3 separate regions of the Homo sapiens genome follow, and regions 1 and 3 are each linked to region 2. The links are contacts of gene promoters, found by promoter capture Hi-C in blood cells and fetal thymus (Javierre and others, 2016). All regions are on one chromosome and are shown on one strand. Each heading gives the region's core, a stretch centred on a gene start or on the middle of the fragment in contact. The rest is flanking DNA. Distances are from core to core; before and after follow the strand shown. Region 1 overlaps P4HA1 (prolyl 4-hydroxylase subunit alpha 1). Region 2 holds the start of MICU1 (mitochondrial calcium uptake 1). Region 3 overlaps P4HA1 (prolyl 4-hydroxylase subunit alpha 1).

Region 1 (4,645 bases), core at 46-2,545, 440 kb after region 2:
ACTTAATTTGTAAGGGATAATTATGTTTAAAATGCACACACTTAGAAGTTAATGTCCCACCTCTGAGGCAGTGTGGTACACTGATAGCTGAGTGAGCTCCAGAGATGTCTGGAGAATCTACTGTTTGCTATAGTTACCTTATTAACTTACCAAGACAGTGATGCAAGTGACCAGAAGGGTGAACATTCAACTTCCACATGAAGCAAATTGAATTTTGTACATATGACATTTTCTATTACTGACCCCCACCCCCTAAAAAAAATCACAGCTTAAAAAAAAGCATGATATCTTTGGCAGATATGGATCTATTCAACAAATCAGGGTTGGGAACAAACAATCTGAAAACTGAAGGAAGTCCTTAAGAACTATAAGGACAACACTGATGTCAAAATGCATGTAACCTATCAGATTTTTCATTAAAATACCAACAAAGCATTTCAAAAGATAGGCCCAAAGAGGCAAAAGAAACAGATGAAACTAATCAAGGAGTGATGTGGCATCAATATAAATTCACTAAGCATTTCTCTGACTTTTTTGTTTGAAGAAAATTTAAAATACATGCATCCTTCCTCCCTCACCCCCACCATTTCACACCCAGATTGCTAAAATTTTTAAAGTCTGACAAAACCAAGAGCTGGCAAGGATATGAAGAAATGGGAACTCTCATACAATGCTGGTGACAGTATAAATACATGCTCTGGAAAGCAATCTGGCCACATCTGGTAAGTATGATGAAAAACCAAATACCCTATGATTTCTTATACCCTAAGAGAAAGCCTTGCACGTGAGTACATGGCCACAAAAAGAAATCAACAAAGATGTATCAAACTTCATTTGATAAAGCAAAAAATTGGACAAAATCTAAATGTACATCCATCCACAGAAGAATGAATAAATAATGTTATACAATACCACATTAGCAGTTAGATGAATCTGATCAACACAGATAAATTTACTGAAAATATTAGGTTAAAAAAAGGTTGTAGAAAGATACATAGAGTATGATGTACTATTGACATAAAATTTAAAAACACAATACAATGGAAAATATATATGATAAAGTATAAAAAGATGACAGGATACGCACCAAGTTCAGAATAGTCATTACCTCTAAACAAGGGAAGGTGCACAAGAAGCCTTCGAACACATTTGTGATATTTGACTATTAACAACAGAAAATAATCTGGGTTGGGGGAGCCTAAAAACTCTTATGCTAGTATTCATGCTATTATTTTTACCACTTATAGGGTATAATGTGATTAGGAAATTTCAGTTATTCTACTTATAAGGAATTTGCCTGAAAGAAAAGTCAATAAGAACTAGCCCAAAACTGTGATAAAAGAGGAAAAAAGTCAACAAGGAGATAAAAAGCACCTGAGAAAGAATGAATATTGCCCCTAAGACTAAACACAGTGAAATCAGGGTTAAATAATATTCAGGACCATTTTGATGGGAATATAATCATTTTTTAAACAAAACACATATAGTAATCTAAATAACATTTATTACCCACCACCACACATTTGGGAGGCTGAGGTGGGATGTTTTCTTTTTTGCTTTTTGTTTTTTGAGATAGGGGTCTCACTCTGTTGCCCAGGTTGGAGTGTAGTGGCGTGATCACAGCTCACTGCAGCCTTGAACTCCTGGGCTCAAGTGATCCTCCCGTGATATGGTTTGGCTCTGTGTTCACACCCAAATATCACCTTGAATTTTAATAATCCCCACCTATCAAGGGCGGGACAAGGTGGAGATAACTGCATCATGGGGGCAGTTCCCCCATGCTGTTCTTGTGACAGTGAGTTCTCATGAGATAGGATGGTTTTATAAGCACCTGGCATTTCCCCTGCTGGCCCTCATTCTCTTTCCTGCCACCCTGTGAAGAAGTGCCTTCTGCCATGATTGTGAGTTTCCTAAGACATCCGTAGCCATGCGGAACTGTGAGTCAATTAAACCTCTTTTTTAAAATAACTTACCCAGTCTTGGGTATTTCTTCATAGCAGTGTGAATACATCCCACCTCAGCCTCCCAAATAGCTAGGACTACAAGCAAGCACCACAACACCCAGCTAAGTTTTCATTTTTTTGTAGAGTCAGGGAATTGCTATGCTGCCCAGGCTGGTCTTGAACTCCTACCCTCAAGGGATCCTTTCCACCTTAGCCTCCCAAAGTGCTGGGATTACAGGCATGAGCCACCATGCCAGCCCTATTTTGTTAAATGGAATCTATCCAGTTGATGAAGCCAGAAATTCCTATCAAGTACATCATCAAATTCTACTATTCTACTCTAATAAGTAGCTTGATAATCTATCCACTACCACCTCTTACTTAAATATTTGCAACAGCCTCCTCCCTGGTTCTTCGTCCCTTGGCCCCAACCCAATCTCCATTCGGCAGCCAGAATGGTTTTCTAAAAGGAAAAATCATAAATTTCCCTTACAAACTTTTTAATAGCTCCGCACTGCACTCAGGACAGTTCAATCTCTTCCACATGGCTTACAAAGCTCTCCAAGAGATGGCTTCTGCTTACCTCTCTAGTCTCAGCTCTCACTACTCTCACAAAGCCAAACCCCCATATCCACCTGGTGCGTTCACCTCTTGAACTCTACATTAAGCCATACAAACTACATGTTAGTTATCTGAATATGATATGCTCTCTCCTTTTGACCTTTCTACATGTTCCCTCTGTCTGAAACACTTTTCCCACACCCACTCCTGTCTCCCTCTCCCCCATTTTTCTGGCTAATTCCTGGTCCATTAGATCTCAATTTTTTTAATGTGTATCTTCCAGGAATTCTTCCTTTACATCCCTTATGAGGTCCAGCAATAGGTTTCTTTTGATGTGCTCATATGGTATCCTGAATTTCTCCCATCCAAGCACTCATCTTACTATACTGTAAGAATGTTAAATACCCTAATGGCGAGGGTAGTGTATGTCTTGTTCATTATGTGTCCCCAGTACCTAACATAATAGCTGGCACATATTAAGTATTTAATATCTATGAAAACCTGAAACCAATTTTAAAAATAAGGTTATAATCTTATCAAAAGCGTTATAATGTATAATATTAGTAGAAACTGAAAATTTGCAAATTTGTACATTTTTGGAAGTTCAAATTAATGGAATTATATTCCAGCTTAACAGAAATTTTATTTACTATTATACCATGTTTAGTTTTTACCAACGGATACCTTCACCTCAAATAAAGGGAGATGAGCAAGAAAACATTTTGATTAACAACTCATCCCAGTGATTTTTTCTTACGGAGAAAATCAATTTCAATGTGAAGACACAGACAACATATTTTATTTCTGCAGCTGACAATAACAGGAGATAGTAGTGGTAATGAGTCACAAACTTTGAAAAAGTGAGGGACGGCAAAAGTAAATTATCATGAAAGCAACTGTAACTTAAAAAGAGGACTTTGCCAAAAATAGGTCAGAAAGTAGGATGTTCCATACTATGGAACACTTTAAACATATGTGGATACCCAAAACATCTTGGCTTTTAATTATTTAACATATAAACTTTGACTATCAATCCCTTATAGCTTTACATACAAAGCTTTCAAATAGTATTAGGTGTTCTGAATAAAAACATTTGGTGAAATGATAGTTTCTTTTCCTTACACACTAAAATTCCCTACTTAAGTTAGTCTCTATCAATACAAGCTTTCAGAGTAACAAGCTAGAAGCTAGAAGCATACCCGTAACTATTAAGCCCTAAGAGAAAGGGAAGGTGATTCTTTAGTCTTCGAAGGCTATGAAACAAACTACAATTTAAAATCTTAAAATGCAAGTCTTTTTTATACTAACATTGTGTTAATGGACTCAACAGAGAAGCTAGGTGATAGGTATTTTATAGAATGGAAGAATGATCTTACCTGGAAGATTACCCTTTGAGATGGTATCTGTATCCAAATTGTAGGTATCCTGGAGACGTAACAGAGCTTTGGCTGCCCCAACCTGATCTTCATCATTAGGAAAGTACTGTCTCTGAATGGTTAGGTTAGAGATAAAGCCTTGAAATAGATAAATCAAAGAAAAAAAAACTGTAGAACCTCATAAACTTCCCATAAAGAGACTTAATAAGGATTGTTCAAAATCTATTTTATTATTTTCTACCACACCATGAAAAGTTCTACATACTCAACAAGAAAAAATTAAATACACTGAATAAGACTTGGCATACTTCTAACTTGTTCAATCTTCCAAAAGCCTAGTGTTGCTTAAGGACTGTGACGCTGTTATATAAATTGTATCTGTATTAGCAGGTAAAGATCACCTAACATAATAGTTATGAGTTTTTAGTTATATAACACAGCAAGAAAACAAAGTGCATCCACTAAGTTTGAGAAATGAACACATTTATGGGTCTGAAATGACATTCATTGACAATCAATTATACTTCCAGATAACAGATGGTAAGTAAAATATGTGCTCTTAAAGTTGTTTTTTTCTTCCATGTATTACACATTATATAAATATGTAAATATATAAAGTTTGGTGGAATTCTTCAAGGAGAAGGAAGAGATATTAACTATATATTTAAGATCAACAGCAAAGCTAGTTTACTAAAATATATTTAAATCAGTTTAATTATCAAACATGACGTTGATCAACCAAAATTTACAATATATAAACCTAAT
Region 2 (4,550 bases), core at 43-2,542:
GGACAAACCAAGGATTGGGACAAAGAGTAGCTGGAGGCAAAAGCCACCTTCCTACAGACAAGTGGCAATGGGTTCTAAAGTTTTTAGGATAAGGCAATATTCAAAAAGCTCATTACCTGGTCCACACCAGAAACACAGTAGGTGGGTCATTCTGGCCAACACCTTTGTCTCAAGATACTGACGTTTATTATTTGTCATATGGTCCAATGAAACCTAAACTCTCCTACAGCTATCCACACCGAACTTGTTTCACCTCATGAAATGCAAACTCCTTTCTTATACTGCTCGATCACTTCCCTACGTGCCCCAAAGGGATGTTCTAATATAAACAAAGGCATATCAAAGAAGCCACCCAAACAAGTGAGATAGAAACATTTATTGATAAATAGGAAGAAAATGGGCGTTTCTAAGGTACCACAGGAAAAATAAAATATTTTACTCTAGTCCCTTAGCTATAAGATATTTATTCTACTTATATTTACTAATGGCCACCGTATTTTTTAAGACATGGAAAATTGGAAGGTAAAGAAACCATCAACCATAAGATTACAGAGAAGGCAACTTGAAGAACAGTTTGTTTTAAACTGTTCTCCCAACATTCACATAGAGTCAATAACATCTAGCTCTTTCTCAAAACAGCCTATGGCCGGCCAGAATGCGACGGTGAAAACAAAACAGGGAGAACGTAATGAAAACGGGAAGGCGCTGGAAAAGATAAAAACTGAACAGTCCGAGTAGCCTGCACTTTGTATTTCTCCTTTGAGTCCTCACTGATTTTCCACTTATTTCGATTCAGTGGTTAATATTTCTCCGTATTAGAAATCCATCTGTGAACTCCCGCACCCACTTCTAACCACATCCACAAATTCCAGGAGAGCCAGTCAAGGCTACCAGAGTGTCCCAGTCGCCTGTGAGGAGGGGGGCGTCGGCGCCAAGTTGCGAACCCGGCACTGGGAGAAGTTCTCCCGGGACGGGAGAAGGGACGGGTTGGGGTGAAGGAAAGTGGAGGACGGGAGGCAAGCAAGACTACGGACTCCTCTCCAAAAGCTGAGCGCATCAGGGAGAGACAGGTATCCCGCCAGACCCGAGAAGTAGCCGGATGCCCGGGGCGGACAAACGGCCAGCCACGAAGCCCAGTTCCCTAAGGCTGTCTCGCCAACCCCCTTCCCCTTCGCCTTCCCTAAATTGCTGTCTCCTTATACCCTCCAGAGTCCAAGACTCACGCGTCCAAACACGAGCTCCAGCAGCCTCTCGGTCAAAGCCGCCCACCTCTGACAGCCATAGAGATGAAACAGCGGAGACAAACCTCCACCCCCTCCGCCCACTCTCACGTGACTCTCCTAGCCGCTGGGCCTGTCGGGATCGTGGAGACAGGCGTGTGGGAGGGGCACAGAGGAAAAGGAACGGGGAGGGGCGGGGAAATCAACGCGCCACGCCCCAGCCTCGGGCCCCGCCCTAGCCCCGTCACTCCCCCTTACTCCCCTCAGCGTTTAGGCGGGAAAGCTGGAGAGCTCCCAGAAGCTCTCGGGCATTTCTTCTGGTTTTTTTCCCCTCCACAAGGGTCATAGGAATCTGTTGAGAAATTTACTGTGGCTTGTAACACCTCCTCGGTACCCGTTTTCGTGTTGGCTATGTTGGCTAAGCAAAAAGGAGTTCGTGAAAAGAAAACTGGACCACAGTGAGTTGGAAATTGTTTCTTTCCAACTCCGTTTAGGTTTTCTCAGAGATTAAATGTTCCTGTTTCATAACCTTGAGACTTTTTTGGATTTAGAAACCCTCACCACTTCCTCTGGTGGATGATTTTGTCAGGTGTTTTATTTGCAGACTAATATTATTGCAGAGTTTATAATCTCTAGAAGCCACTTAAAAACATGTTTTCCCTTGAAGAATGTGTTTTTTGTTTGTTTGTTTGTTTGTTTGTTTTGAGATAGAGTTTCACTCTTGATGCCCAGGCTGGAGTGCAGTGGAGCGATCTCGGCTCTCTGCAATCTCTGCCTCCTGGGTTCAAGCGATTCTCCTGCCTCAGCCTCCCAAGTAGCTGGGATTACAGGCATGCGCCACCACGCCCTACTAATTTGTATTTTTGGTAGAGACGGGGTTTTTCCATGTTGGTCAGGCTGGTCTGGAACGCCCGACCTCAGGTGATCCGCCCACCTCGGCCTCCCAAAGTGCGAGGATTACAGGCGTGAGCCACTGCGCCCGGCTGAAGAAGGTGTTTTTATCAGAAAAATGGGATGGCAAAGGATCCTCACCCCTGCTGTGGAAATAGGATGGAAATATGACTATAATACCAGAGAATTTTTTTGGGGGGGGGGCAGCGGGGTGTTGGTTGGTTGTTTGTTCGTTTGTTTTGAGACGGAGTCTCGCACTGTCGCCCAGGTTGGAGTGCAGTGATGCTCACTGCAACATCCTCCTCCCAGGTTCAAGTGATTCTTCTGCCTCAGCCTCCCGAGTAGCTGAGATTACAGGCACGCCCCACCACGCCCGGCTAATTTTTGTATTTTTAGTACAGACGGGGTTTCGCCATGTTGGGCAGGCTAGTCTCAAACTCCTGACCTCGGGCGATCCTCCCGTCTCGGCTTCCCAAAGTGCTGGGATTAACAAGTGCGAGCCACCTCGCTGGTCCCAGAGAACTTTCAAATAATTTTTTTTTCCCAAGAATTTACGTAGCAGAGCTGTGGAAAAGGCAACAACCATGGAAACAAAGCCAACAAAACCATCCCTGGGGTAAATTGTGAAGTAAGCAGAATCAACTCTGTTTTCTCCATTTCTTCTCAGACCCAACTAACCTAAGTACAATAGATGATTGTGTTCATGGCTCTGTGCTAGCGCTTTACATACAACCCAGTGCTTGTCTACAACCACTCTAGGATGGATACTGTTTTATTCATTTGCAGATAGGGAAGCAGGCTGACACCCCTAGGTAATGCAGTACATGCAGTAGCGGGACATAGACCTGACCTGAAGGCCTCTGAGGCTTCCACTCTTAAATGATGTAATTCAGGCCGGGCGCGGTGGCTCACGCCTGTAATCCCAGCACTTTGGGAGGCTGAGGCGGGCGGGTCAGGAGATCGAGACCATCCTGGCTAACACGGTGAAACCCTGTCTCTACTAAAAATACAAAAAATTAGCCAGGCGTGGTGGCGGGCGCCTGTAGTCCCAGCTACTCGGGAGGCTGAGACAGGAGAATGGCAGGAACCCGGGAGGCAGAGCTTGCAGTAAGCCAAGATCGTGCCACTGCACTCCAGCCTGGGCGACAAAGCGAGACTCCGTCTCAAAAAAAGAAAGAAAGATTTGCTGAAATTCAATTCTAATTTTAGGCAACATTTGTCTATATAAAACTAATCAGTCAAACTAACTGTTAAATAACATTTAAAAACATAAATCATTGTTTCTCAAACGTTTTGGTCTTAGGACCCCTATACACTTAAAAATTATTGAGGACTCAAAATAACTTTTATTTATGTGTGTTATACCTATCGATATTTACCATATTCGGCCAGGCAGAGGCTAATACCTATAATCTCAGCATTTTGAGAGACTGAGATGGGATGATCACGTGAGGCTAGGACTTTGAGGCTACAGTGAGCTATGATCATGCCACTGCACTCCAGCCTGCGCAACAGCGCAAGAACCTGTCTCTATAAACTTTTTTTAATTTAGCATATGAGGACTTAAAATTGAGGCCGGGTACAATGGCACCCAGCACTTTGGGAGGCAGAGGCGGCAGATCACCTGAGGTCATGAGTTCGAGACCATCTTGGCCAACATGGTGAAACCCTATCTCTACTAAAAATACAAAAATTAGCCAGGCATGGTGGCACACGCCTGTAATCCCAGCTACTCAGGAGGCTGAGGTAGGAGAATCGCCTGAATCCGGTAGACAGAGGTTGCAGTGAGCCAGGATCATGCCACTGCACTCCAGCCTAGGCCTCAGTGACAGAGCAAGACTCAGTCTCAAAAAAAAAAAAGAGAAAAGAAAGAAAATTAAAATTGAAATTATTTTAATGTGTACTTAGTCATTTAAAAATAATAGATCCATTATATGTTGACATAAATAATGTATTCTTAAGAAAAACAACTTCAAAAAAAAAGAGTAGCATGGTTTTACATTATTGCAAATTTCTTTTCTTTTTTTTTGAGACAGAGTCTCACTGTGTCGCCCAGGCTGGAGTGCAGTGGCACGATCTCGGCTCACTGCAACCTCTGCTTCCCGGTTTCAAGTGATTCTCCTGCCTCAGCCTCCTGAGTAGCTGGGATTACAGGCGCATGCCACCACGCCCGGCTAATTTTTTTGTATTTTTAGTAGAGACGGGGTTTCACCATGTTGATCAGGCCGGTCTCAAACCCCTGACCTCGTGATCCGCCCACATCGTCCTCCCAAAGTACTGGGATTACAGGCATGAGCCACTGTGCCCGGCTGCAAATTTCTTTAATGTCTGGCTTAATAGAAGACAGATTCTTGTATCTTTTCTGCATTAAATGTTTGCACTCTTACACTTCATGTAGCCTCTGGCAAACTCTACTATATACTCAAGAAAGAATTAGAG
Region 3 (4,776 bases), core at 2,274-4,773, 470 kb after region 2:
CAAAAAAGTTAAATATACTCTTATCTCTGAACATGAGCTATTCAGACCAAGGCCACTCAGGTCAGAGTAGAATACTCAAAAGCTGGCTTTAGCAGTCCCTTTCCTCCTAAAAAATGGATTATTGCTCTGAGGCCCAGGTATACTCAGCTTCATCCCTCCCAAGGCTATTCTGTCAAAATTCCACTTTTATTTCCACCCAGTCTACCTCTTTCTAGTCTTCAATTATCTGTTTACTCTAATGCCAGATCCAAATTTCTCAAGTTGAGGTAAAGAGAGACAAAATAAGACCATGTATACTAGAACAGGGAAAAATGAATTCATGGTTGTAGAGGATGTGAATCTAGATATGCATTTCCATTCAGTGCTACAGATTTAATATCTAGTAAAATGTTAGCCACATGGTGCTATATCATGTAATTTTTATGTCCTACTTCTCCTATGAAACATTTCTCATCATTCTTGATTTTCCTACAGTCTACTGGCCATATTGTAAATAATTTTTTTTTCTTTTCTTTTTTTTTTTTTTTTTTTTAGAGACAGGGTCTTGCACTCTCACCCAGGCTAGAGTGCAATGGTGCTATCATAGCTCACTGCAGCTTCCAACTCTTGGGCTCAAGCGACCCTCCCACCTCAGCCTCCCAAGTAGTTAGACTACAGATGCATGCAACCTCATGCCCCCTTAATTAAAAAAAAATTTTTTTTGTAGAGAGATGGGGTCTCACTATGCTGACCAGGCTGGTCTTGAACTCCTGGCCTCAAGTGATCCTCCTGCCTCGGCCTTCCAAAGTGCTGTGATTACAGGTGTGAGCCACCATGCCTGGGCAACATAGTAAGGCCCTGTCTCTAAAAAAAAAAAAATTTAAATATAAATTTAAAAATTAAAAAATTGGTTAAAGTTTACTGTAATTATACAGGTTGATAAAATAAACCACTAAATTACAGTCCTCTCTTTGCACTACTTATAATGGAGAAACAGCTCAAGTGTCCAACAAGAGAGTAAGGATGACCAGGCATGGTGGCTCACACCTATAATCCCAACACTTTGTGGGGCAGATGGGAGAATCACTTGAGGCCAGGAGTTCGAGACTAGCCTGGTCAACAGAGCAAGATCCCATCTCTACAAAAAATTAAAAAATTAGCTAGACATGGTGGCATGCATCTGTACCCCGAGCTACACCCGGAGGCTGAGGCAGAAGGATTGCTTGAGCCCAGGAGTTCAAGGCTGCAGTGAGCTATGGTCACACCACTGCACTCCATCCTGGGCAACAGAGCAAGATCCTATCTCTTAAAAAAAAAAAAAAAAGAGAGAGTAAGGCTGAGTGTACTAATTCCACATAATATTACTATTTAAGAAAGAAATGAGTAATATGGACACATTTTTATGAAACACTAAACATGAGGAAGAGAAAGGCCCAATATAGAACTCATTCACTGATGACAACTAGGTAAGAAGTCTGAATCTCTATAATGTATTTTTAGCAAATGTCAAATCAAATATACTAACAGTCATACTGATCATCCAAAGGAAGACCAGGAAAAAGAATGTTTTTCACCACACCGAGTTTAAAAACTGCTGGAGTAACCTAAATGAGAGTCCTTTTGAATTGCCAAAGCTTTTCTTTAGGTACAATACTTATTCAACTAGAGAAACTGAAGCTGTCCTAATGACAGGACAGCTTCAATTTATACAAATAAATTTTCTTGAATAGAAACACAAAGCTTTGGCCGGGCACGGTGGCGTGATCACACCTGTAATCCCAGCACTTTGGGAGGCCAAGGCGGGCAGATCACGAGGTAAAGAGATCGAGACCATCCTGGTTAACACGGTGTAACCCCGTCTCTACTAAAAATACAAAAAATTAGCTGGGCGTGATGGTGGGCGGCTGTAGTCCCAGCTACTCGGGAGGCTTAGGCAGGAGAATGGCGTGAACCCGGGAGGTGGAGCTTGCAGTGGGCCGAGATTGCACCACTGCACTCCAGCCTGGGTGGCAGAGTGAAACTCCATCTCAAAAAAAAAAAAAAAAAAAAAAAAAAAAAAAATATATATATATATATATATATATATATATATATACACACACACACACACACACATACTCATTTTATTTGGATTTTTTATATATATTCATATATTTATACACACACAACACATTATGGTTTAATTACAAGATTCAAGATCTCACTGCAAGAAAAGCAATAAAGTTTAATGCCAAGAGCCTATGCAATTTATTTTTGTTTACTTCCAAGCCTGTTCCACTTTCAGAATGGAAAACCAAAGTTAAGTTACCATATATAGGAGAGGGCATGCAATGTGATATACTTTCACAGACTAGACAATTTAGCATTTCAACAATTCTAACAACCTATTAACTTTTGTTAAAACCCTTTTGGCAAAAATGTATTAGGGTCACCCACATATACAAGTCCAGTCAGACTTACATGCCCAGCTCGATTTTCAGAAACATTCAATACTGCCTCAAGACACCTAGATACCCTTAGAGAGTAACTTCACATCTCTTACTTTTTAGGGGTTCTTATAATAAAGTTCATGAATGGACTTGAGTGGGGGGGCAGGAAGTGACATACAAAATTCCATGTAGGGTGTATTTGCATTTTCTGACATAGGACCACACCTTTCATCAGATTCTCAAAGGATTTCATGACCTTAAAATAGTTTGAGAACCACTATTATGTATCTCACAGGTCAATTCAAGAGCAATAATTATATCCTAGTTGATAACTGGTTGCTAAGTAAAATAAAGCATTCCTTCCACAGAAAGGAAGGCTCACAAGCTTTATGGCTGTCCCAGCTCTTGCTGCATCTCTGGAATAAATGCCGTTTGAACTTAATTGCCCTACTGAAAAACACTGCTTTTCAGTATACAACTTATTCTGCACTAATAGAAAAGGTTAACAGCTCCTTGCCAAAAAGCCAAGATTCATCTGCAACAACCCAGACTACAAGGCAATATAAAACTTTTTTTCAATAGTCTTTTGCACTAATTTTTTTGGCATAATTAAAAGTTGTACACATTTTTCAACTGTTTTACCATCTAAGTTACCAAAACACAAAATGGCCAATGTAATTATCCGCCTACCAAAGTCCTGATTTTCAGTACTTCAAAATAAAACTCATTTCAAAATGTCAATAAAAACAGCACTACCCATTTAAAAGAGACAGAAATAGTCCTTTTCCTAGTTAGTCTATGTAAATCTAAGAAACATTTGTCATCAGCTATCAAAAACAATGGCAGGACTTAAGGCACAATGTCCCAAAACCAAAACTGACTATGAATTTTATTAAAGGTAAGTGATAAAGTCTCTTTTCCCACATAAAGAAAAAAGTAAAATTTGAAGTTCACATTTCAGATTCTTAAATTACGCTCACAAGCTAAAAAAAAAAAAAAAAAAAAAAAAAAATCACGGGGTGTGTATTCACATTTCACATGAAGACAAAATATAGTTGAGGTTGTTCACTTTCAGCTTCTTGAATATATCGTCTTAGGATACCGATTTTCTCCATAGAAACTTGATTCTAAAAATCCCTTTAAAATGTTTTTTAAATTAACTTCCAACGTTCCTGCTATGCAGACTGAATTCTTCATCTGATTATTTTAGGAAAAGACTAGCCTCATTCATAAGCTACGTCTAAACCTAAAAGGGGAAATACGTTTCTAACCAGAACTTTAAAAAAAAAAAAAAAAAAGAGTAAAAAATTGATGAAAGAACGCTGCTGCCACGTCTTTGCCCCTCCCCCCTTCACGTAGTGGCTATTTCATCCCCTCCGAGTGCATTCCAAGCGAAAGTCCGAGAACCACTGCTCTCGGAGAAACCAGAAACAGTTAAGTGGAAATTGGCAAGTCTCTTTGGCCTTTTAGATCAATTCCTAAAAGAGGATCTAGCTGCTTCTTCAACCCTTTCTTAAAGAAAACAGTGCAAAATTCCAAGAGTCTTCACTCTATCCGGAACGCGTAAGATGTTAGTGTCTAAACATTGAATTTGTATGTAACAGAGTCGATTATTTAGGAGAAAGAGTCTCACAGTTATCATACCATCCTTCCTCCCCATTGAAACATACATCCGGGGGCCAGCCATGTAATCCAACTCAAAATCCTCACACAACCATGGAATTTGTTGGACTGATGTGGACTTTTAAAAGCTGCAAATTCTCGGCAGAGAGAGACAGAGAGACAGAGATTGAGAGAAGAGCTCTTGTCTCTTTTTAAAAAAAGTTATGGGGAAGAAGAGGGAAGGAAGCTTCCCTGACGACGAGGTGACCTGAGAGCCTACTTCCTCGGCGCTACGAGCAGAAAGCTCGGCGCCCCGGGCTACGTCTGGCAGCTAATGCTGCACCGCTGCGCGCAACAGATGAGTTCAGCCGGAACTTTCTGGGGAGGTCCCCCCAGCTCCCGGCGACTTTCGATAGGGCAAAAATGCCTGGCGCGCTGCGGATCCAGCTCCAAGCCTTAAAATCCGCTCTCCACCGCCACATGCGAACCATCTGCGGCTGTGGCGGCCAAAAGCCCACGCCCCGCGCTTGCGTTCCCCTTAGCCTCGTTAGGGAGGACCAGGTGCAGGGGAACTTGGAAAAAAAAAAAAGCAACAGAGTGATTCCTCCCCGGGAAGGAAAATTCAAGAAAGTCCTGGTCCCTAGGGCGGGGACTGAGGCTGCAGCAGCCCCAGCGGTCCGAGGCGCACTAGGGACAGAGGTGGGAAGGGGGGCACGAAGGAGCGCGGGCGCCGGGAGTCGCGTGGCGCAGGGAGAGGGGCCGAGTC

Evidence for each region. The method cuts DNA at HindIII sites, captures the fragments that hold promoters and counts their contacts. A CHiCAGO score of 5 or more calls a contact.
Region 1: a fragment that was not itself captured here is called in contact with the fragment with the promoter of MICU1 in region 2 in 1 of 17 cell types (erythroblasts); the score reaches 5.3 in erythroblasts.
Region 3: a fragment that was not itself captured here is called in contact with the fragment with the promoter of MICU1 in region 2 in 1 of 17 cell types (erythroblasts); the score reaches 5.0 in erythroblasts.

What each region holds. Positions count from the first base shown.
Region 1 is chr10:73,064,966-73,069,610 of GRCh38, forward strand. P4HA1 (prolyl 4-hydroxylase subunit alpha 1) reads right to left here. Exons shown (of 15, transcript NM_001017962.3): 5 at 3,881-4,018. Among named protein-coding and RNA genes, the nearest start is that of P4HA1, 30 kb to the right of the region's middle. The HindIII fragment of the contact is 4,527 bases long and covers 1-3,559 here.
Region 2 is chr10:72,624,787-72,629,336 of GRCh38, forward strand. MICU1 (mitochondrial calcium uptake 1) reads right to left here and starts at 1,293. Exons shown (of 12, transcript NM_001195518.2): 1 at 1,224-1,293. RefSeq lists enhancers at 1,060-1,597, 1,148-1,297. The HindIII fragment of the contact is 6,741 bases long and covers 1-4,550 here.
Region 3 is chr10:73,091,835-73,096,610 of GRCh38, forward strand. The region is part of intron 1 of P4HA1 (prolyl 4-hydroxylase subunit alpha 1); the gene reads right to left. Among named protein-coding and RNA genes, the nearest start is that of P4HA1, 2.6 kb to the right of the region's middle. RefSeq lists an enhancer at 4,413-4,776. The HindIII fragment of the contact is 1,464 bases long and covers 2,792-4,255 here.